Linked DNA regions of Homo sapiens: region 2 is linked to region 1. The links are contacts of gene promoters, found by promoter capture Hi-C in human tissues and cell types (Jung and others, 2019). All regions are on one chromosome and are shown on one strand. Each heading gives the region's core, a stretch centred on a gene start or on the middle of the fragment in contact. The rest is flanking DNA. Distances are from core to core; before and after follow the strand shown.

What was found. Contacts are between HindIII fragments. The study calls those that stand out against the background at their distance.
Region 2: a contact is called between a fragment that was not itself captured here and the fragment with the promoter of ZNF66 in region 1, in 3 of the 25 tissues and cell types used here (H1 embryonic stem cells, mesendoderm cells and thymus).

Annotation. Positions count from the first base shown.
Region 1 is chr19:20,772,402-20,778,656 of GRCh38, forward strand. It overlaps ZNF66 (zinc finger protein 66), which reads left to right and starts at 3,903. Exons shown (of 4, transcript NM_001355197.2): 1 at 3,903-4,049. The coding sequence starts at 4,047. The HindIII fragment of the contact is 10,177 bases long and covers 1,958-6,255 here.
Region 2 is chr19:20,705,483-20,711,737 of GRCh38, forward strand. No RefSeq gene overlaps it. Among named protein-coding and RNA genes, the nearest start is that of ZNF626, 47 kb to the left of the region's middle. The HindIII fragment of the contact is 7,019 bases long and covers 1-5,950 here.

The DNA of each region.
Region 1 (6,255 bases), core at 2,653-5,152:
ATTCAAGATCACAGTTATGGTGGAAATTTTTGCCTGTTGATCTTCCTGCTGATTAAATAGTCTGTCAAGAGGAAGCAGAGACACACTAGCATCAACATGGAAAACAGGGCCAGGCACAGTGACTCACACCTGTAATCCCAGCATTTTGGGAGGCTGAGGTGGGCAGATCACAAGGTCAAGAGATTGGGACCATCCTGGCCAACATGGCAAAACCCCGTCTCTAAAATTACAAAAATAAACTGAGCATGGTGGCTCATACCTCTAATCCCAGCACTTTGGGAGGCCAAGGCCTGCTGATCAGGAGGTCAAGAGATGGAGACCATCCTGTTTAACATGGTGAAACCTCATCTCTACTAAAAATACAAAAATTAGCTGGGTATGGTGGTGTGTGCCTGTAGTCCCAGCTACTCGGGAGGCTGAGGCAGGAGAATTGCTTGAACCTGGGACATGAAGGTTGTGGTGAACCCAGATTGTGCCACTGCACTCCAGCCTAATGAAAGAGTGAGACTGCATCTAAAAAATGAATAAATAAAAAATAATACAAAATTAGCTGGGCGTGGCAGCCTGTGCCTGTAATCCAAGCTACTTGGGAGGCAGAGGCCAGAAGAATCACTTGAACCGTGGAGATGGAGGTGGCAGTGAGCTGAGATTGCACCACTGCACTTCAATTTGGTGACAGGGCTGGATTCCATCTCAAAAACAAAAAACAACAACAAAAAAACATGGAACACAGTGACGATGGGAGTATGCACCAGGATTCAGATACCTTACCAATATTGTTTTCCCCAAACCTCTTTATTCCGCATTAACCATTTGTTTCATTGCCACTTGGGCACCCAGGTAGTAAGACCATTTGCTACTGACAAAGAGTTGATATAAAAGTAACAAATCCCTCTGGCCTCCTCCTGAATAGCTCGGAGAAACGACTACTAGTTCAGCTAACTGGCTGCTCCCACCCCTTCCTTCATCAGAAATGCTTATGTTTTTAACAGGATTATAAGCCACAGCCCTCCAGCATTGGGTCCCACCAAAGTATTTGGTGGATCCATCAGTAAACCAAGCATGTTTCTGATCCTCTGGGCTTAGTTCTTTAAAGGATTTGCCCCATTTGATGTGTGTGTGTGGGGGGTGTTTCTTTCCCTATCTGCAGGACTTGCTTGGTTGTTTCCTGAGCTCGCAGGTTTTCCACATCCTCATGTAAAAGTGATAGCCCCTATGATTTTGGCTTAGCCTGGTTTTGTATGTCCCATTTCCATTTTATGATGCTACTTTCTGGGCATGCCCTATCTGGTGGGTTTTGGGGGAACTCATGACCAAAGTCATAATAGAAATTTCAGGCCTCATAAAGACATCGTGGTTGAAGCAGAGGTGTTCCATTTCCAGCAAAGCTCAATAGCAAGCTAACAATTGCTTCTCAAAAGAGGAATAAGCTTTTCCAGCCTCTGGCAGTTTCTGGGTCCAAAACATGAAAAGTACCCTCTTTCCATCTTGTTTCTGCCTAAGGCTCCAATTAGCATGTTGATCTACGACAGTTACTCGCAGTTCATCAGGCCCATCCCATATAGGCCATAGATCCAGGGCCAGTTGCACTGCTTGTTTAGCTTGTTCAAAAGCCATGCTGTCTTTCTCTCCACAGTGAGAGTCATACCTTTTTCTAGTGGCTGCATTCAGATGTTGTAAAATGTTACCCAAGTAAGGAATATGATGTGTTCAGAATCCAAACAAGTCAATACATTTCTGGGCCTCCTTCTTAGTGGTAGGGGTTGCAAATTATAGTATTTTAGCCTTAGCCTTTGGTGAAGTGGACTGTTTCTTTGCATTCCATAGGATGCCAAAGAATTTTACACTTTGTGCGGATCCTTAATTTTACTAGGCTTAATTTCCCATTTTTGAGATAGGAACTGGGTTTTTACATGCTCTAAGCCCCGGCTGACTAGTTCTTCAGTTTTACCCTGATTGGGCCACCTGGACAGCTGCTTTTTTCAGCAATAGGCTGATAGCTTTGAGCCTGATCAGTCAAGACATTGACTGGCATTGGGCCAGGGCCAGTCCGGAAGTCAGATTAGCATTTTCCTTTTCCAGCTTATATTTCTCTTGTAGCAACCAGCCCCTATCTTGACACATTAACTTATAAGCAGCAATCAAACACTATCCACTTTGTGAGATTCCCTCAGCATCTCCTTTGGTGACTGGAATCCCCTGCAGCACTTCACGCACAGTCAAAGGTTTAAATTGCACTAATTTAGATTCCCAATTCCCACAAAGGCCAGTTCCCCTGAACCATTCAATCACAAAGAAGGAGAACTGGGAGTGATCCCATCTCAGGATATGGGAAATCCTTGAGCCTCCAGCCCTATCCTTCTGGTCAAAAAGGGGCCCACTTTTGTTTTCAAATCCTGTTTGTGATGCCAAAAATGTTCTGTATGGGAAACGTGGGAGAGGAGAAGAAAAGACATACATACAATAACTTTAATGGTAAACAAGCTTTAACCCACATCAATATCAATGCAGACAGAATAAACTAATGATATAATAAGCAAATGATATAATAAGCAAATAAATATAATACACAGATTGATATAATAAGCAAATTGCAGTAAGAAGAGGAGATGGGAAAAGATATATATATATATTTACCCTCACTAGACTATGGAGGATTACCAACTGAGTAGGAAGAAACAGCCCAGGCTCCAGAGTCGGCCACCCATTCATGCACAGACAAGGAGTCTCATGAAGCTTCAGGGTGGTCTGGGACCCTAGCTCTTTTGTAACGAGTTGTTTGGCATAAGGCCCAGTGAGGAGGGCCATTTGGGACTTGCCTCACGGAACACAAAAGGGTCAAGTTGTTTTTGTGATTGTCTATTGTTTTTCAACAACTAATGTATAGTAATAGAATGAAATAGACATTTCTTTGATACAGCTCTGGATGAACACCTCAGGGGCTCACAACCAGGACCTGTTCTGGGACTTGGTGACCATTGTGTCCACGTTCAATTGAGTTCAAATTTAACATTTAACTTTTCCTCCATAAATTCTCCTGTCTTCATGAATTGGCTCTGTCTAGGCAAAGGGCAAAATGAACCCCTTGGGCTGTTACATAACCTCCACCTCCTGGGTTCAAGTGATTCTCCTGCCTCAGCCTCCGGAGTAGCTGGGACCACAGATGTGCACCACCATACCCAGCTAATTTTTTACATTGTGAGTAGAGATGGGGTTTCACCATGTTGGCCAGGCTAGTCTTGAACTCCTGACCTCAAGTGATCCACCCACCTTGGCCTCCCAAAGTGTTGGGATTACTGGCATGAGCTACCTGTGCCTGACCCTAAATTATTTCTATCTCTTATAGCAGTTTGAAATTACTTAAAGGTTGTTTCAAGTTGAAAAAATAAGAAGAATGTGGATAAAAATAAAATATAAATAGATAAAAAAATTACAGGGATTACAAAATATATATGTAAATCTGGAGTGGTCAAAAATGACAAATTTGATTTATTTATAAGGTTTTATTAAAATTAGCTTTAATCGTTAATACACTATTACCAAAGTAAAAGCTGATTTTCTCTTGAACAAAAATTTTATGTATTATTAATATGACAGCAAAATACTTCTGTTCACCTTTGAATACATTCAACAAGACAGAGAGTAAAAAAGAGATAAAATGTTCCCATGCTCTGGCATGGACCAGGCTCAGCTCTGGGAGGAAGCCCTGCCTGAAAAGGCTGCAGCTTAGGCTGTCACTCTTTTCTTCACTCCGCCCAGCAGCTGATCACATCTTCTGTCACTCAGTGTCTGAGGGGGCGGGACCTTAAGCATTAGCCAATCAGAGGCGCTGGGCTGGAAACCGTCCAATCAGGCACGCAGCTGGAATGAACAGGACGGCTTCCGGATTTGGCGGGGTCTTTGTCTCTCCCTGCAGCTGGAGCTCCAGGTCGTCTGTTCACTGCTCTCTGTCTTCTTCTCCTAGAGGCCCAGCCTCTGTGGCCCTGTGTCCTGCAGGTATTGGGAGATCCACAGCTAAGACGCCAGGACCCCCTGGAAGCCTAGAAATGGTGAGAGTGCCGGTCCAGCATCCCGAGAGAGGTGAAGTGTCTGTGGCGGGACTCAGGCCTCCCCTCAGTCAGCTCCACAATCTGCACCCCGAATTCTCCTTACCCAGCTCTGCCTCAGTCCCATTCAGCCATAAGATGGCGGCTACGCTGACAGCCTGGCCCCCGGGCGTCCTGTCGCTTCCCCGCGCAGTGACTGTGCCCCTGGCCTGGAGCGCTCTGTGGGCAGCTCTGCACCCGCAGTGCCGTGTCTCTCCCAGATTGTGCAGGGACCACCGGAGGGTCTTCAGGGGAGAATGCTGACTCGCGGTGCGGGTTCATGAATGGGAAGAGCTTTGGTCTGTGGGGTTCACAGTTTCTCTTTTCTGCTATTAAAATTGTATGGGGCCGGGCGCGGTCGTTCAAGCCTGTAATCCCCGCACGTTGGGAGGCCGAGGCGGGCGGATCACTTGAGGTCAGGAGTTGAAGACCAGACTGACCAAAATGGGGAAACCCCTTGTCTACTAAAAATACAAAAATTAGGTGGATATGTTGGCGAATGTCTGTAGTCCCAGCTTCTCGGGAGGCAGAAGTGAGAGAATCGCTTGAACCCGGGAGGCGGAGGTTGCAGTGAGCTGAAATCCTGCCACTGCACTCCAGCCTGGGCGACAGAGCAAGACTCTTGTCTAAAAAAAAAAAAAAAAAAAAAAAATTATGGGAGTCACTGCAAAAATATCAAACAATTTAATCAAAGAGTGATTCAAGAATTGTAGAGCACCCAGCTATAGTTTGTAGTTTGTGGTCCATGGGAGAGGCTTGAAGAAAAGACATTTATAAAATGCATGATGAGGAAAACCAAATTCAATAATTTGTTAGGTTTAGTAATGTAGTTTCTTAATTTGTACAATCAAGGTGGAAATTTCCTGGTTATGTAATTAGAGCTTAATTGGCAGTTTATAGTTGCTGAAGCCTGAATTTTGTTTCCCCTAATGTAGTAATTTGCCAAAAAATGCACTTGAGCTTAGATTTTTTTTTTTTTTTTTTTTTAGAAATAGAAATCCGGGGACTAGAGCCTCTTCAGTCTAATTGCCTGCCACTTAATTATTTTCACATCCCACAGGGGACTGACTTTCCCTGGCATTTTTCACATGTGTCCCAAGCAGGGCCTCAAGTGTCCCCCATGTTCCTCAATTAATTATTATTATTATTATTATTTTTTGAGACGGAGTCTTGCTCTGTCGCCAGGCTAGAGTGCAGTGTCAGATCTTGGCTCACTGCAACCTCCACCTCATGGGTTCAAGCGATTCTCCTGCTTCAGCCTCTCCAGTAGTTGGGACTACAGGCAAGCGCCACCACTCCCAGCTAGTTTTCATATTTTTAGTAGAGATGAGGTTTCACCATGTTTGCCAGGAATGCTAGTTACCAAGGAAAAATATAGGGAAAATCTCTCTTCCATTTTGGCTGTAGACAATGAATATATTTCCACAGGAAAATGTGGTAGATAATTGAGGAGTTACATGGATTCATCAACACATTAGTTCCTCTTTTTGCAGGGTAAATTTTTTCTATATCCTTTTATTTTGATTTCTGAGTTAAATGCTAAATTTTAAGTGATGAAACATGGTACCTTCTAGAAGTGTTCCCATATGACTAATTTTTTACTACATTATTTTATTTATTTACTTATTTTTTTGAAACAGAGTCTCACTCCGTCACCAGGTTGGAGTGCAGTGGCGTGATCTCGGCTCACGCAACCTCTGCCTCCCAGGTTCAAGCAGTTCTCCTGCCTCAGCCTCCCAAGTAGCTGGGATTACAGGTGTGTGTCACCACGTCCAGCCAATTTTTTTGTGTTTTTAGTAGAGACAGGGTTTCACCATGTTGGCCAAAATGTTCTCAATCTTCTGACCTCGTGATCTACCCACCTTGGCCTTCCAAAGTGTTGGGATTAGAGGCGTGAGCCACAGTGCCCGGCCTACTGCATTATTTTTAAGATAAATAATAAAATAATACATACATTGTCTGAAAGAAGTAGATATATATGCTTTTCTTATAGGGGTATAAAATGCAAGCATCTTAGCCAGGTGCAGTGGCTCATGCCTGTAGTTTCAGCACTTTGGGAGGCCTAGACAGGTTGATTACTTGAGGTCAGGAATTTGAGACCAGCCTGCCCAACATGGTGAAACTCATCTCTACTAAAAATACAAAAGTTAGCCAGGTGTGGTGGCATATG
Region 2 (6,255 bases), core at 1,191-3,690, 68 kb before region 1:
GGCAAACCCACATAATTCTATATGTGTGTGTTTATCTGTCTACCCATGTATGTCTATATACAGATCTAGCTATCATTTTTTCCATATGAATACAGAGTAAAGATATAGGAGGTAAAAGGATAAATAGGTATTTGTACTTATAGCAATGTAAAGAAAAACTTCAATGACTGCAAAATCTTATTTGCCCCTTAAATTTTATCCATAAGAGTACACAAATGGAGGTATACTCTGACCTGCATCTTGCTGCATTTGATGTTTTCAAAGAAAGAATTGGTTTTTGTTGCTCACAATCTGTTAGCAAAAGTGCACTAAGGCCATCGAGTCATTTATTGCCAAGTCAAACATGGCCTTTTTAATTCTGGTGAATGGGAAAATATGGATAAACTAGCCTTAGCTTGAAAGCCTTAATCCAAATTTGCAAATGAGAAATAATTCTCTTTAAAGCTTCCCTCAATTTTAGAGCTTTTATTTTCAAATATGTGACATAGAAATAGAATCTTCTTCTCTTTCTTTCTTTCTTTTCTTTTTTTTTTGAGACAGAGTCTCACTCTGTCACCCAGGCTGGAGTGCAGTGGCACGATCTCAGCTCACTGTAACCTCCGCCTTCCAGGCTCAAGCAGTTCTTCTGCCTCAGCCTCCTGGGTAGCTGAGTTTAAAACCACATACGCCACCGCGCCTGGCTAATTCTTGTATTTTTAGCAGAGATGGGGTTTCACCATGTTGGTCAGGCTGGTCTCCAATTTCTGACCTTGTGATCTGCCCACTTCAGCCTCCCAAAGTGCTAGGATTACAGGCATGAGATACTGTTTCCGGCTTTTTTTTTTTTTTTTTTTTTTTTTTTTTTGCAGAGTTTCACTCTTGTTGCGGAGGCTGGAGTGCAATGGCAACATCTTGACTCACTAAAACCTCTACCTCCCAGGTTCAAGTGATTCTCGTGCCTCAGCCTCCCGAGTAGCTGGGATTACAGGCACCCAACAACACACCTGGCTAAATTTGTATTTTTAGTAGAGACGGGGTTTCTCCATGTGGGTCAGCCTGGTCTTCAACTCCTGACCTCAGGTGATCTGCCTGCCTCAGCCTCCCAAACTGCTGGGATTACAGATGTGAGCCACAGTGCCTGGCAGAAATAGAATCTTATCATATTGTTGTGTTTGCTCAAGTAGTAACATTTTGGGTAAGAAAATTAAACAAGAGGTCTCTGACTTTAAGATGGACTGCTATACTGAAAGCAAATTTCAGGGTGTTTTCAGATGCTTTTTTCTTTGGATTTAGATACAGATATAACATATGTAGCTAGAGAAATATATACAGCCAGGTGCAGTGGCTCATGCCTGTAATTCCAGCACTTTGGGAGGCCAAGGCAGGTCCTTCACTTGAAGCCAGGAGTTCAAGACCAGCCAAGCCAACATAGCGACACCCCATCTCTACTAAAAATACAAAAATTAGCTGGGCATGGTGAGACCAGCTGAGCCAACATGGCAAAATCCCGTCTCCACTAAAAATACAAAACTTAGTTGAGCATGGTAGTACACACCTGCAATCCCAGATACTAGGTAGGCTGAGGCATGAGAATTGCTTCAACATGGGAGGTGGAAGTTTCAGTGAACCATGATCACACCACTTCACTCCGGCTTGGGTGACAAAATGAGACTCTGTCTCAAAAAGAAAAAAAAAAAAAATACAAAGACCCAGGGTCATAGAAACATATAGAGACATACATATGTAACCTGAATTTGTGACTATGTTTTATAACATCTCACAAATGTAAAGTAAGTCAGAGGTTATGTCCGTACTCATGCTCCTCAAGATAGATGAATGCGATTCCATGAGGCAAATTTAATAAGCCAATGAGCTCAAGTCAGCTGTTTTCAATCAGCCAATTAGCTGAGCCCAGGCGATTCCTATTAGCCAATTAGCTCAGCGCAAGTGATTCCATTAGGCCAATTATGTCAGCTTAGGCAATTACAATCAGTAAATTTGCTCAGCCCAGGTGATTACATTTCGCCAATTGACTCAATCCAGGTGATTCCAATCAGTAATTCGCTCAGCCTAGGTGACTTTAAACAGCCAATTAGCTCAGCCTTAACAATTTCAATCAGTCAATGAGATCAGCCCAGGTGACTCTAATTGGCCAATTAACTCAGCCTCAGTGATCCTAATCAGAAAGCTCAGCTCATGTAATTTTATTTTACTTTTTTGACGGAGTCTCTCACTCTGTCGTCCAGGCTGGAATGCAATGGCATGATCTCGGCTCACTGCAACCTCCACCTCCCGGGTTCAAGGGATTCCCCTGCCTCAGCCTCCCAAGTAGCTGGGATTACAGGCATGTGCCACCACACCCAGCTAATTTTGTATTTTTAGTAGAGACAAGGTTTCTCCATGTTGTGCAGGCTGGTCTTGCACTCCCGAGCTCAGGTGATCCACCTGCCTCGGCCTCCCAAGGTGCTGGGATTACAGGCATGAGCCACCGCACCTGGCTAGCTCATGTGATTTTAATCGGGAAATTAGCTAGAGAAATTCTAGAGAATCCAATCAGCCAGTTAGTTAGAACTGTGATTCCAATGAGTCAATTAGTTCAGTTCAGAAGTATCTAATTAACCAATTAGCTCAGGTTAGTTGATTTCAATAAGACAAATAGTTCTGCACAGGTGGATCAAATCAGCCAATAATCTAAATAGTGACTGTAGATTCATTAGATCAGAATGGCAGATTTAAACAGCATTTTTCTACACTGAGAAGAAAAGCAGGGCCCAAAGACTCTAATCTGGTCATAAAGCATTACATTGCTGTATTGTCAGCTTGTTTCCAAGACCTTGCCTTTGACAGTGAAGCTTTGTTTATGTAAACATCATTGTATGTCTGTGTTCCATTATGGATTTCTATTGTGCCATAAAGTAGACTAGTAAGTCCACATCTGCATTCTTAGTATATACTAAGGTATTAAAAATGTCATTTGCTGAAATCTTGTATATTAATAAACATTTATGTAATTATAATTATATAATTCTGTACGTGTGTGTTTATCTACCTACATCCAGATGTATCCAGGTTTGTACCTATATTCACAAAAAATAAAGATGTAGAAGGTGAAAGTGTTGATCGTAATTGATATCAATAGTAATATACAAAGATAATTCCATAGAGGTATAAAATTTTCTGCCGTATGAAATATACCTAGAATGCTACTCAAATGGATGTATGCTATTACCTAAATCTATCATCATTTAACTTATACAAAGTAAGCATAGTTTTTTTTTTTTAATGGAGTCTTGCTCTGTCACCAGGCTGGAGTGCAGTGGTGCTATGATCTTGGTTCACTGCAATCTCCGCCTCCTGGGTTCCAGTGATTCAACTGCCTCAGCCTCCTGAGTAGCTGCGACTACAGGTGCCTGCCAACAGGTCTGGCTAATTTTTGTATTTTTACTTAGAGGCAAGGTTTCACCATGTTGGTCAATCTGGTCTCAAACTCCTGACCTCTGGTGATCAGCCCACTTCAGCCTTCCAAAGTACTGGGATTACAGGCGTGAGCCACCGCGCCTGGCCAGACACTTTCTTCTGTAGATTTGGAAACAGATATAAGACACATATGGCTGGGCATGGTGGCTCACACCTGTAATCCCAGCACTTTGGGAGGCCGAGGCAGGCAGATCATTTGAGATAGGGAATTCAAGACCAGCCTGGCCAACATGGAGAAACCTTGTCTCTACTAAAAGTACAAAAAAATTAGGTGGGCATTGTGGCACATGCCTGTAATCCTGGTTACTCAGGAGGCTGAGGCAGGAGAATCACTTGAACCCAGGAGGCAGAGGTTGCAGTGAGCTGAGATCATGCCATTGCACTCCAGCCTGGGCAGCAAGAATGAAACTCTATTTTAAAAAAAAAAAAGACATGTATATAGGAAAACATAAACAAACACAAAGGCTTATATACATATGTCTAATTAATGCCTATTTGTGAGTATGTCTTGACAAAAAGCCCCAAAAGAAAAGTATGTAAAAGGTTATTACCTTACTCATTCTCCTCAAGACACAATCAATGAACTCAGCCCATGTGACCCTAGTCAGCCAGTTAGCTCAGCCCAGGTGATTACAATCAGCCAATTAAACGAGCCCATGTGATACCAATTAGTCAATTATATCATAAAGGTTAATACAATTAGCCAATTAGATTAGCCCAAGGTGATTCCAATCAGCCAATTAAATGAGCCCAGGTGATACCAATTAGCCAATTATATCAGTATTGGTGTGTTGGTGTGATCAGACCCAACACCGGGTTGTGGGGGTGACAAAGTCCAGTGGAGTCAAAGGATTGAGAAAAAGTTTGAGAGAGAAAAGTGGGACCAGGGGGCCATTGCTAGTGTATGGAGGCTGCGAAGGCCCCGAGCTCTGGGATGCCATGCTATTTATTGGTAATCCAACAAAGAAACAGATGGTGAGAATGTGGGGTCGAAAGGGCAAGTGCATGATCTACAGCTGTGATGGTTTAGCATATGCTCTGCTACTTGAGATAATGGAGAGCAGGTTCTTTTAACTCAAGATACAGTCAATCCTGGAAGAGCAAGGAGCAAGGAGCCAGCAAGTCTAGACACATTCCAGGGCCACGAGCCCTGGATTCTATTCAAGCCATGAGGGATTTTATGCCCTGGGCTTAGATTATGGTGCTTCAGTGTAGCCTTCCACCCTTTAGCACAGAGCTTGGTGTTCCAAAGGCCACAGAAGTTTTTATACCCTGGACCCCAGACATGTTCCAAGACTCTTTTACATTATGTCAGACATGCAAGCCCTGCCTCAGCTTCTCTCCCAACACTCAGCTTTTCTCCCAACATGCCCCCCTTTTCTTTTTCATAAAACCGCCACAGCTATCATTGCTTGTTCTTGAAGTCAGCTTTCTCTCAGAGGTGGCTTCATCTTCAGAGGCAGCTTTCGCATCTGCAGACTAAAAGAAGACAGCACAAGCACACAACCACCAGAACAAAATCCACAAATGTAGAGCCTCCAATGGCCTTCAACTATAAATCTTTTAGAATGGGATAATAGTTTTTTAAGGGTCTCAGTTACAATATAAATAGATGGTGATGTCTCCATGGTCTATTTAGAGGTACAGGGATCCAAACTCCTTCTCTGGCTTTAATTATCAAGATAGTTTGATTTTTATCAAAGGTTGAATTAATGTAGGTAAACAAGTGACATTCGGGGCAAGTAATAAGGCATATATTTATATCAAGAGTAACATTTCCTATTGCTAGCACAACTTTGAATCCAAAAGGTCCTGTTGGAGAGAAAAGAAAGAGCATTTTTATCCTTACCTTCCTCCCCTCTATTCCTTGTATATTTGCCCTCTCAGATTTTGCTTGGACTTTGAGCCATAGCTAATTTCCATAATTCAGAATGTTCCTGTCTGTCCCTGCAAATCTCTGCTAGTCTTTGCTAGCCTCAACTTTTGTACCTCTTTAGGGCACTGACCTTATATTGCTAGTCTTTGCTTTTGTACCTCTTTAGGGCACTGATCTTATATTGCTAGTCTTCATCTATCTCTATTTATCTCTATCTCTCTATTTATCTCTGTTTATCTCTATCTCTCTATTTATCTCTATCTCTCTATCTCTATCTCTACTTATCTCTAGCTCTACTTACTTAGCTCTACTTACTTAGCTCTTATTCAAAATGGAGTTGCTCTGGTTTGAATTCTTCCCACATATCTCCCTTTTCCCTTTTACAAGAGGACCCTTAATCCTAGGGGTTGCAGAAGGATGAAGGTCCATCTTCTGTAACTTCTTCATGCTGAATAGGAGTGACGATAATCCTGCCTAACTATTAGGGACTCTTGTATTCAGGGTAGAGAGGAGCTCAGTCAGAAAGCATTGGTCCGTTAAGCATCCATAGGTAAAACCCTGGCATTCCAGTAGTTTCTCAGCTTCCTGTGCTGTTTTCTTGCTCTGTCCCATGTTATAGGGGTTGCATCCACATGGTTTCATTCATCTCCTGCAAAAACACAAGCGTACCCTCGATCCCACATTAGTAAACCTAGCGAAACAGAAGCAAAAAGTTTTGTGGTTGTAACTGGGAGGCATGCCATTGCTGAAGCATTTGTTAACTCAGCTTCTGCCTCTTTGGTTAATTACAGTGAGGTAAAACTTTCCACTGATAATGAGAAACAGGCCCCTTCTAACAGAAGGCACAGAGAAAGCAAATCAAGGCTTCTCAAACCTTCAATTTGCACTGTACCGGTGGGCCCACTAGATGCTGTGGCTCATGA